2 separate regions of the Homo sapiens genome follow, and region 1 is linked to region 2. Evidence: promoter capture Hi-C in 16 types of primary human blood cells and fetal thymus (Javierre and others, 2016). All regions are on one chromosome and are shown on one strand. The core of a region is centred on a gene start or on the middle of the fragment in contact, and the rest is flanking DNA. Distances in the headings are between cores, read along the strand shown. Region 1 overlaps IL6R (interleukin 6 receptor). Region 2 holds the start of UBE2Q1-AS1 (UBE2Q1 antisense RNA 1).

Evidence for each region. Contacts are between HindIII fragments. The CHiCAGO score rates a contact against its expected background, and 5 or more counts as called.
Region 1: a fragment that was not itself captured here is called in contact with the fragment with the promoter of UBE2Q1-AS1 in region 2 in 2 of 17 cell types (endothelial precursors and megakaryocytes); the score reaches 9.4 in endothelial precursors.

What each region holds. Positions count from the first base shown.
Region 1 is chr1:154,445,750-154,451,476 of GRCh38, reverse strand. IL6R (interleukin 6 receptor) reads right to left here. Exons shown (of 10, transcript NM_000565.4): 7 at 3,306-3,352; 8 at 1,497-1,566. Among named protein-coding and RNA genes, the nearest start is that of IL6R-AS1, 42 kb to the right of the region's middle. RefSeq lists an enhancer at 5,693-5,727. The HindIII fragment of the contact is 1,007 bases long and covers 794-1,800 here.
Region 2 is chr1:154,550,731-154,555,970 of GRCh38, reverse strand. It overlaps UBE2Q1-AS1 (UBE2Q1 antisense RNA 1), which reads right to left and starts at 2,362. Exons shown (of 2, transcript NR_046668.1): 1 at 2,299-2,362; 2 at 943-1,321. UBE2Q1 (ubiquitin conjugating enzyme E2 Q1) reads left to right here. Exons shown (of 13, transcript NM_017582.7): 2 at 7-111; 3 at 439-543; 4 at 1,186-1,236; 5 at 2,799-2,939; 6 at 3,151-3,235; 7 at 3,507-3,567; 8 at 3,788-3,878; 9 at 3,992-4,050; 10 at 4,152-4,200; 11 at 4,479-4,574; 12 at 4,967-5,033. The HindIII fragment of the contact is 6,880 bases long and covers 1-5,240 here.

The sequences.
Region 1 (5,727 bases), core at 48-2,547, 100 kb after region 2:
GCTCGATCTCAGCTCACTGCAACCTCTGCCTCCCAGGTTCAAGTGATTCTCTTGCCTCAGCCTCCCAAGTAGCTGGGATTATAGGCACCTGCCATCACGCCTGGCTAATTTTTGTATTTTTAGTAGAGATGGGGTTTCACCATGTTGGCCAGGCTAGTCTTGAACTCCTGACCTCAGGTGATTCTCCTACCTCGGCCTCCCAAAGTGCTGGGATTACAGGCGTAAGCCACCGCGCCCGGCCCATAGCAACCTTTGAACACCCAACCTCTTGCATCCCACCCATACCATTCAAAGCCCATTTCAAATGGCACTTCCTCCATGAGCTTTCTGTGACTGCTCAGCTTGATATACTCTTTCAAATCTCTAAATTCCACTTTGCTTTATCTGTGCCTCCCTTTTGGCCCATCTCACATGCTGGTCTTTGTCACAGTTACCAATTTACTCTTTGTCAGAGCCTGGACTGTAGCCTCCTTGAGAACAGGGATGGCTCTAATCCTCTCCGAGTCCCCAACTGTGCAGAGCTCAGCCCCAGGTATTTAGCAGGTCCTCCACAGGTGCACTGCACCATGGTAGGGCTTTGTACCTGGGCTGTTGTAGCAGAGGCAGCCAGCATCAGTGCAGGCAGGAATCCACCCAGGGATGGGGAACGAGGGCAAGGACTGCCTCACGAAGCCCAAGAGTCATCAGGGGAGCTGCTCAACTACTGAACCTCTGGAGTCTGGATTCCATAAGTCCCATATACCTAGTCAAACACAGGACTTGTGATCTTTCTTGATTCAAATACTGGTAAGCTTTCCTGGTCTTGCAGGGATAGGGAATCAAAAGCATTGAAATCAAGGGCTCCCAAAATAAAGATTTCCCTCAACAGGTATTCCATTTCAGACTCCAATAATCTTGTTTGCAGCACATTCATTTGTATTGTGGGCCAACTGTGAAATATCTCACTTTTCAAATATCTCGAAGTGATTTGTCCCACTTTTCTTACGGTCTCCTCATTATATCTTAGCTAACAATATCAAAGTTCAACATATAAAGTAATAAAAGAACATTTCTGGCCAGGCACGGTGGCTCATGCCTGTAATGTCAGCACTTTGGGAGGCCGAGGTGGGTGGATCACAACGTCAGGAGTTCAAGACCAGCCTGGCCAACATAGTGAAACCCTGTCTCTAGTAAAAATACAAAAATTAGCTGGGCATGGTGGCATGCGCCTGTAATCCCAGCTACTTGGGAGGCTGAGGCAGGAGAATCGCTTGAACTCAGGAGACAGAGGTTGTGGTGAGCCGAGATCATGCCACGGCACTCCAGCCTGGGCAACCGAGCAAGACTCTCTCCAACACACACACACACACACACACACACACACACACACACAGAACATTTCTGCGATTGATCTGTGATTGATCCTCTGACGACATGTCCAAATAAGAAAGGACTTTCTGCAGAGACAAATCTTCTGTCCCTCGGACCCTGGGAATATGAAAATACCCAGTCCTTACCTGGGAGGCTTGTCGCATTTGCAGAATCTCTGAAGAGAATATTATCATCGTCTTTATTAGTAGTAAGTGCCTAAAAGAGACATTCCTCACCATCAGCCTGTTTCTGCAGATTGCACCATCATTCAGAACCAGTTCAGGAGTTACCTCCTCCTCAGAGCCCTCCCTGATCCACCCAAAGCATTCCTTTCTCCATTTCATTCATAACAGTGGAAAAATCAATAATACTATTATTTGCATTTTTTCTATCCACACCATGCCTGCTAAAGGTGGGGCTTTCTTTCCACCTGCCTCTCCACCAAAAGCTTAAAGCTGCACAGAGAAGATGCTCAGTGGATACACTGAAGCAGCTGTTGTCCTTACAGGTCCGATGCAAGGATGCAGGTACTACCATGACTGGAATGCTGGTTCCACCACTTACGAGCTATGTCACCTTGGACAGACTTCTTTTTTTTTGTTTGTTTTTTTGTGAAATGGAGTTTCACTCTTGTTGCCCAAGCTGGAGTGCAATGGCATGATCTCGGCTCACTGCAACCTCCGCCTCCCAGGTTCAAGCGATTCTCCTGCCTCAGCCTATCAAATAGCTGGGATTACAGGCATGCGCCACCACACCCAGCTAATTTTGTATTTCAGTAGAGAAAGGGTTTCTCCATGTTGGTCAGGATGGTCTTGAACTCCTGACCTCAGGTGATCTGCCTGCCTCAGCCTCCCAAAGTGCTGGGATTACAGGTGTGAGCCCCTGTGCCCGGCCCTGGCCTCAGACTTAACTCACGTTAAGAAGCCCTACAAGGCCGGGCGCGGTGGCTCACGCGTGTAATCCCAGCACTTTGGGAGGCCGAGGCGGGTGGATCATGAGGTCAGGAGATCGAGACCATCCTGGCTAACAAGGTGAAACCCCGTCTCTACTAAAAATACAAAAAAAATTAGCCAGGCGCGGTCGCGGGCGCCTGTAGTCCCAGCTACTCGGGAGGCTGAGGCAGGAGAATGGCGTGAACCCGGGAAACGGAGCTTGCAGTGAGCCAAGATTGCGCCACTGCAGTCCGCAGTCCCACCTGGGCGACAGAGCGAGACTCCGTCTCAAAAAAAAAAAAAAAAAAAAAAAAAAAAAGCCCTTACAAGCACTCCCTTGCAATGTTAACATAAGGAGCCAATGAAACAGCAAATGCAAGGCTCACAGTTTAGCAGGATGTGGCCAGTCCTCAGTCGGTGTCAGTTTCCCCAGAACCCGTGTTGGGAGCACTCTAGCCCCATGGGTATGGGCTTCACCTGCAGCTGTTCCTACATGGAACACAGATAAGGTTCAAGAGCCCCAGGCTCCTTCCCTGTGCCGCACAGCTCCAGAAGTGGCTATGACTCCCAGCTTAGCATTTAGGGAATTAAGGGCCACAGGAGGAGATATAGTTGGATAGGAAATTGGATTACTCAAGGAATTTGTTAAGCAGCTTCAGAGGTAATCCTCTTTCCAGCAAATTATGTCACCAAGAGTCCACAGGGGAAGGATGCAGATAAACAGAATCCAATCTCAAGCTAAGCCATTAGCGTTGTCCAAAAAGCTCAGAGATGAAATAGCAGCTGCTAGACGCAGAGCAGTTCTGCACGCCAGGCCAGCGCTGCTCCACTCCTTACAGTCCTGGGACAAGATAATTTCTATGATTCCCTTTCACAGAGGTTTGAAAAGCACAGGTAACTCACCACGACCACATTTCTACTAGTGACAGAACTGGATTTAAACCAAATTCGGTCTGGCATCAGCCCACACTCCTAAACACGAGGTGCTGCAGCCCTGACCCTTTTACAAGAACAGGAGCTCACCTGCATGGGGGTGGACACCTCGTTCTCAGCTGGAGGACTCCTGGATTCTGCGGACAGAAGAAAGGCTCATTATTAGTGATTCATGGGCCCTGGAGTCCTGTCTCAGGGGCTTCAGCATCAGAAAAAAAAAGTTCATCTCAATGTTATTTAAAAGAACAGCATGGGCTGGGCGCGGTGGCTCACGTCTGTCATCCCAGCACTTTGGGAGGATGGGTAGATCACCTGAGGTTAGGAGTTCGAGACCACCCTGACCAACATGGAGAAACCCTGTCTCTACTAAAAATACAAAATTAGCTGGGTGTGCTGGCACATGCCTGTAATCCCAGCTACTCGGGAGGCTGAGGCAGGAGAATCGTTTGAACCCGGGAGGCGGAGGTTGCAGTGAGCCGAGATCATGCCATTGCACTCCAGCATGGGCAATAAGAGCAAAACTCCGTCTCAAAAACAAAACAAAACAAAACAAAACAAAACAAAACAAAACAAAAAACAGCATGCTGGAAATAACCAAATATCCAACCGTAAGGGACTAGCTGTAGAAATTATGACATAACTACATAATGCAGAAACTTTTAAAATTTATTTTATATATATATATGTATGTGTATATATATATATGTGTATGTGTATATATATGTATGTGTATATATATGTATGTGTGTATATATATATGTGTGTGTGTGTGTGTGTGTGTGTGTATATATATATATATATATATATTTTTTTTTTTTTTTTTGAGATGGAGTTTCACTCTTTTGCCCAGGCTGGAGTGAAGTGGCATAATCTCGGCTCACTGCAACCTCCACCTACTGGGTTCAAGCGATTCTTCTTCCTCAGCCTCCCAAGTAGTTGGGATTATAGGCGCCCACCACCACACCCAGCTAATTTTTGTATTTTTAGTAGAGACAGGGTTTCACCATATTGGCCAGGCTGGTCTTGAACTCCTGACCTCAGGTGATCTATCCGCTTTGGCCTCCCAAAGTGCTAGGATTACAGGCATGAGCTACCGTGCCTGGCCAATTATTATATATTTTTTGAGACAGGGTCTCGCTCCGTCGCCAGGCTGGAGTGCAGTGGCATGATGATGGCTCACTGTAGCTTTAACTTCTGGGCTTCAGTGATCCTCCCATCTCAGCTTCCCAAGTATCTGGGACTACAGGCGTGTGCCACCACGTCTGGCCAAAAATATTTTAGAAAAACATTGAAGACATGACATAATGCTGTATGAAGAATGCAAGACAAGAAAAATTCTATGTATTTTGATTCAAACTTTCTAAAGAAATATATTTTTATGATTATTGTGTAACACAGTATATATCATAATACTATATATTTGCACACAGGAAGAAGAAAATGGAAAGATACACATCACCAGAGATAAGCACTATTTCAATTTCCTTCTATGCACCTTTTTGCAATAAAAAATATATAACAAATAAATATTCATTTGCCTGTATGGGTTTAGTACACATTGCAGCAGCAGGGATGTGGACCAGGCACCCTCACGGCTCCCTCCCCCTGCACGGGAACAGTGTTTCTGCGGAAACCCCAAGGCAAGAGGAGGCTAAGTATCCAAGCGAAAGCCTGGGCCTTAACCGTAACAGGCAGTGAGTGGAATGCTCTGGATTTCAAAACATTTTCTTGTCAGCTCATCATTTTTCCATCAAGAATTCTAAAATTCCACAGAATGGTTTAAACAAAAATCACGAGCCTCGCTGGGCCAGGAGTAAGGACTAGCAAGGAGGCGGGGAGAGGGTGACCCTGCTTCGGCGTCAGGGAGGGTTTCCAGAATTCCTGGAGTATGCCATCACCAGTAAGGGGGAAACCACACACCAGCAGCACCAGAGGAAGTATAAGAATGCATCCACTCTTCCAATTGTACAGAGGGGAAACAGAGGCCCGGAGAGGGAAAGCGACTTGTTCAAGGCCGCACAGCAAGTGCGACCTGAATTGAACCTAGAATTCATGGGAGGGACCCAGTTTATTGTTCCTTTGCGTTCTTCCCAGCCCAGCAGAGGACAGTTACACACTTATAGCCCAGGGTATCTAAAGGATGACCTGAGGGCATGGAGGCACTAGAATGAAAGCTAAAATCAGAAGACAAAGAAGATGGGGGCAGGCCGGACTCACACCTGTAATCCCAGCACTTTGGGAGACTGAGGCTGGAGAATCCCATGAGGCCAGGAGTTTGAAACCAGCCTGGGTAACATAGTGAGACCTCATCTCTAAAAAAAAAAGAAGAAAACAAGAAGAAGATGGGGCAGCCCTAAATAGAAAATATGGCTGCCCATGGATGCTCGTGCAGTTCAGCAGTTTTCCAAACCCCGCCAGAGTCAGCTTCGTCTGGAGCCTTGAAGGCTCCACCTTGCTTGTTGCCTCAGAACCATGGAAATGGGACCCAGTCATTAGGGCTTTTTTTTTTTTT
Region 2 (5,240 bases), core at 1,113-3,612:
CTTCAGGAGTCATACCCTGCTGTGCCCCCCATCTGGTCGGTGGAGTCTGATGACCCTAACTTGGCTGCTGTCTTGGAGAGGCTGGTGGACATAAAGAAAGGGAATACTCTGGTGAGGGGGCCACAGGGTAGGGGTACATTTTGTTCTTATGAGGCCCATGCCACAAAGGCATCCTGTGAAAGGGATCCTGAAAAGTGGACGGTACACAGCTAAACATTTAGGGGATGACCTCTCGGGGGAGTTGCTTACTGAAGCCAGAGGGAGACCCTGCATCGGCCCTGGGATTGGTCCATCAGGAGACTCATTCCCACAGCCACGTGGCCCATAAGGCTTAGAGAACTAGTTATTGGTGTGGGGCCCAAACTAAGAGCTCATCCATGCACTTATCCAGATCGGAGTGGGGAAGGATTTGATGTCTCTGTGCTCCCCTACCTGTAGCTATTGCAGCATCTGAAGAGGATCATCTCCGACCTGTGTAAACTCTATAACCTCCCTCAGCATCCAGATGTGGAGATGCTGGATCAACCCTTGCCAGCAGAGCAGGTGAGCAGCTGAGGAGCCTCGGGCCCTGTTGTGCAGAGTTGCCCCACAGGGTACTCAGTAAATAATTGAGACAAATCAGTAGTTTCTCTCCATCCCCACCGGCTCCCAAAAACATACACGTCTTATGACTCTCACCCTCGTTCTTCTCCAGATGGGAATCTTCTTTTGCTAAATGGGGCACTGGTAGCTTCATCTCTGATATCAAAATTCATTCTCATGGGCAGCATCCCAGATGTTGAAAGGGAGCGGGGGAATTTTTACCATTATCTTAGCAATAACAGTTGGTGGCCACTGGGGACCCAGGCCCCTTGGTGAGAACCAAGAATGCAATATCAGTCTAAAGAAGATCAAGTAAAGGAGGGGTTCTTAGGAGAATTAAACTAGGATTTAGGAGGTGGGTGACAGAGACAGCCATTTTGCTTTTCTTTTATTCTTTGGCAGTGATAGGCGAAAAATAATGGGCTGGTAGCAAAGCCATTCCCTGGGCTGTTGCTTCCACTCAGATCTGGCTGGTGGAGAGACTGGCAGCATTACAGGCAGGCGCACAACTTCCAGACCTGGGGGCTCAGGGGAGTAGGTTGGAGGCTGCATTCTAGCAAGCCACTGGGGCTCTGATCTCCATCTTTCCCTTCCTTGCTGCAGTGCACACAGGAAGACGTGTCTTCAGAAGATGAAGATGAGGAGATGCCTGAGGTAGGCTTGCCCCCTGAGGTGGCATTGGCTGGAAGCTCTTGCAGTCAGCAACATTGGTACCCATATCCAGAACTCCAGTCTAAAACTGGAGAGAGAAAAATATCAAAGGAATAAAGACAGATTTACTGACCTGGAGGAATAGCCAGTGTAGTAGAGGAGACAGGGCACCCATATCCAACCACTGAAGACAGGTGCAGCGCGGTTCAAACCAAATACTGGGTAAGTTAATTTCAAATGGCTTTGGAGTCCAACAAACCTGTGTTTGCATCCTAGCTATCCTAATTGAGGAATTTTATGTAATCTCACTAAGCTACAGTTTTCTTATCTATAAAGTAGGATTATAATACCTACTGCATATGGTTGTCTTGAGATTAAATGAGGTGTTATATATAAAATGCTTCAGATGATACATGATAAATGCTAAACAATCTATCTGATATATTCTCTAAAAACATACAGAATATAAAATCATGGTTAGGAATTTGAGCTTTAGAGCTAGACAGAACTTGACTGAATCTTAGCTCTGCTAAGAGCTGTGACTTTGGGCATGATAATTGACCTCACTAGACTCAGCTTCCGCATCTATAAAATGGATAATGATAGAATAATGAGTGATGGTGGTAAGAATGAAATGAGCTAGTATCTGCGGCACCTAGGACAGAACCTGGCATGTAATAAACACTCAGTAGACATTACCTGCTGGTGTGGTAATTAGGTATGTCCTGCCAGAAATGGGGAGATCACTCTGATTACTTTTATTTCCTAGCATTAGATTAATATCCCAGGTTCTATAACCGTGTAAGGTTCTTGAGACTGGCAAAGGGCTGACGACATGAAATTTACTCCTCCCAGATAGTGGACAGCCCTCTGGGCCACACCCCCAACATCTGGCTGAGGGGCTCAACCCTACATAGGTTCTCCTCCTTCCCTATGCTCAGTGAGCTAGTTGCTTGCTCACTTAGAGCAGGATGAATAAGGGGCTAATTCTGTTCTTGACCTCTTCCATATATCTCTCTGGACATCCTTTCTCATTTCCATCTGGCAGTGCGTGCCTCTGCATACCTGATTCATGCCTTGCATTTGTAGCGAGGAGAGGAGATGTAATGATTCAGGTTTCTCCTTTAGGCTTGGGGCCCTGAGAACTCCCGGGTGCAATAGTCACCTGGTGAAACATGAGCTTTGAGTCACAGGGTCAGGCCCAAGTCATTTCTGCTAGGAATTAGGGAAGAGTTTCTGCTGCCAAGGGAGTTTTAGGAACAGTTGGAGCAGGGTCAGTCCAGGAAACAAGAGGGCTAAGTCCCTGCCTCGATCTCAGCTGCAGCTCTGCTCGTTTCCGAAGTCCTTGCTGTAGCTTGAGAGCTGAAGATTTAGACTGTGGAGGGAATGGGGCTGGAAATTGTTCTAAAAATGGAAAGCACGTTGCGTTTATAAGACTGCTAGATGGACTGCTTCACTTTAACTTTTGGCTCTTCGCCAAATGGGACTGGGAAGGTGATGGTCATTCTCTAACCTGTGTCGGTTTTTTTCCTTTTCTTTTCACTCCCACCCCACACCTCCTCCAGGACACAGAAGACTTAGATCACTATGAAATGAAAGAGGAAGAGCCAGCTGAGGGCAAGAAATCTGAAGATGATGGCATTGGAAAAGAAAACTTGGCCATCCTAGAGAAAATTAAAAAGAACCAGAGGCAAGATTACTTAAATGTACGTGCCTTCTAGAGAGAGGCTGGTGAAGGGGTTGGTGGGAAATGGCTGGGAAGTAGTAGGCCATCGCATCTCAGTATGGAGAGCAGACTCCTTTTTTGTGCCTAATCCTTTCTTAAATCCTGGGCAAGCTGCCAGACTGCCCCTAAGGTCTAACGTGTGTTTATAAACCACACGACCAAGGAATGTTCCTGTCATCCGTCCCTCACAGGGTGCAGTGTCTGGCTCGGTGCAGGCCACTGACCGGCTGATGAAGGAGCTCAGGGATATATACCGATCACAGAGTTTCAAAGGCGGTGAGTTTGCCCCAGAGAGGGGCCTGCACAAGAGTCACCCATAAAGAAGGGTATGGTGGCAAGGGGCCCAAGAGGTTCTGGGGTCCAGGAGTGCTTATGAACTTTTCAGGCCAAGAATGGAGCTCCTCAAGCCAGTGGCTTGGTTGCATGTCCATCTGTGGTGAACCTAGAGCTGTTGATCTTTTTCTCTCAGTCTGGGAAAGGGGTCTGCATTAGAGACCACTCACCACCTGGACCATTCTACTAACACCTGTTTTTTCCCTCCTTCCAGGAAACTATGCAGTCGAACTCGTGAATGACAGTCTGTATGATTGGAATGTCAAACTCCTCAAGTGAGTGGGGACTCTGGGATTGGAGAGGAAGTTGAGGAGGAGTGTGAGTGGGGCTACTGTGGTGGGATCTCCAGGGCAGCCCCATCCAGCATTTTCATTCAGGGTCCCGGAGCGGGTGTGGGCAGTGGTTTCGTGGTCTGCTGCCAGCCAGGGCAGGGGAGCCCTTATGAAGCTCCTGAGGTGGAACCAGGCATCTGAGCCCAGGCTTGTTGCTTCTTAGAGTTGACCAGGACAGCGCTTTGCACAACGATCTCCAGATCCTCAAAGAGAAAGAAGGAGCCGACTTCATTCTACTTAACTTTTCCTTTAAAGTAAGACTTTTCTTTTCCAGTCTCTCCCTCTGGCCTAGGCTGCCCAGTCTGCCTGACAGTCCTGTGGAGGATGCTGGCCTCCCTCCCCTGATTGTCGTCTCTCTCTCTCTCAGGATAACTTTCCCTTTGACCCACCATTTGTCAGGGTTGTGTCTCCAGTCCTCTCTGGAGGGTGAGTGGCTGGCATGCGGAAGAGGGCATCTCCTCTGGCAGAGGGCGGGGAAGAGACTTGGAGATTTTGTCAGGCACAGCTGACTAACCTTTCTCATGCAGGTATGTTCTGGGCGGAGGGGCCATCTGCATGGAACTTCTCACCAAACAGGTGAGCCTGTCTCTCCTCCTTGGCCAGGCCGGCCTGGGCGGGGATTGTCTGAGCTTTACAGCACACACCCCTACGGGCTGGGTGATAGACATGATGTGGCCCTTTCATTCTGCTGGGCTGGGTCTGCACCCACTGACCTAGACAGACAGGTGGTGGCAGTGCTGGGGGCAAAGGGCAAGGGCCCTCCTATAGACACAGCTGATTGCCCAGAGGACAAGCATGAGGGTTCTCTGGAAGCTCCATCTGGACCTGCTTGCCTTGTCCTTCCCTTCACCCAGGGCTGGAGCAGTGCCTACTCCATAGAGTCAGTGATCATGCAGATCAGTGCCACACTGGTGAAGGGGAAAGCACGAGTGCAGTTTGGAGCCAACAAAGTAAGGATCCTGGTCCTGGGGCTGGTGGGGCTGGGTGGAGCCAAGTACACTTGGGGCCACTAGCAGGCCAAGGCTGCCTTCTTTAGAGGAATGAGCATAAGGCCCCCGGGCTGGTGGCATTGGATGAGAGGGCCTAGGGTGCCCACAATGGAACAACTGTGCCTTGGCCCCTAGGGGCACCCCTAGGACTTTTGGGAGGTTTCGGGTCTGGAAAAGGAAGACTATGGGATTATGCCTCCAAGGGACCTCGAAGGTGGAGGGTACTTAGTGTTTTACTAGACCACAGTGCTGGGAGCTGGGACTCTGGGGTCTCTGGGTGACAGCCTGCAGAAGGTGAGGGGCAGTAAGGCCACAGCTAGCCATGGCCTGATCTGGTGGCTTCCTCTCCCCAGTCTCAATACAGTCTGACAAGAGCACAGCAGTCCTACAAGTCCTTGGTGCAGATCCACGAAAAAAACGGTGAGGCTGGAGCCAGGACTCAGGAGATTCGGACACTTGCCACACCCAGGTTTTCACTTCCAGCCACAGAGCAAGAACCCCTTCTTTTGGTTTCTGATACTCAACCACCCATTAACACAGCACCTGCCCCAGTTCTCCCAGGAGGGACTGGCGGTGGCTAACATTCACAACCTCTTCCAGAAACACACCAAAATGATCGTATCACCG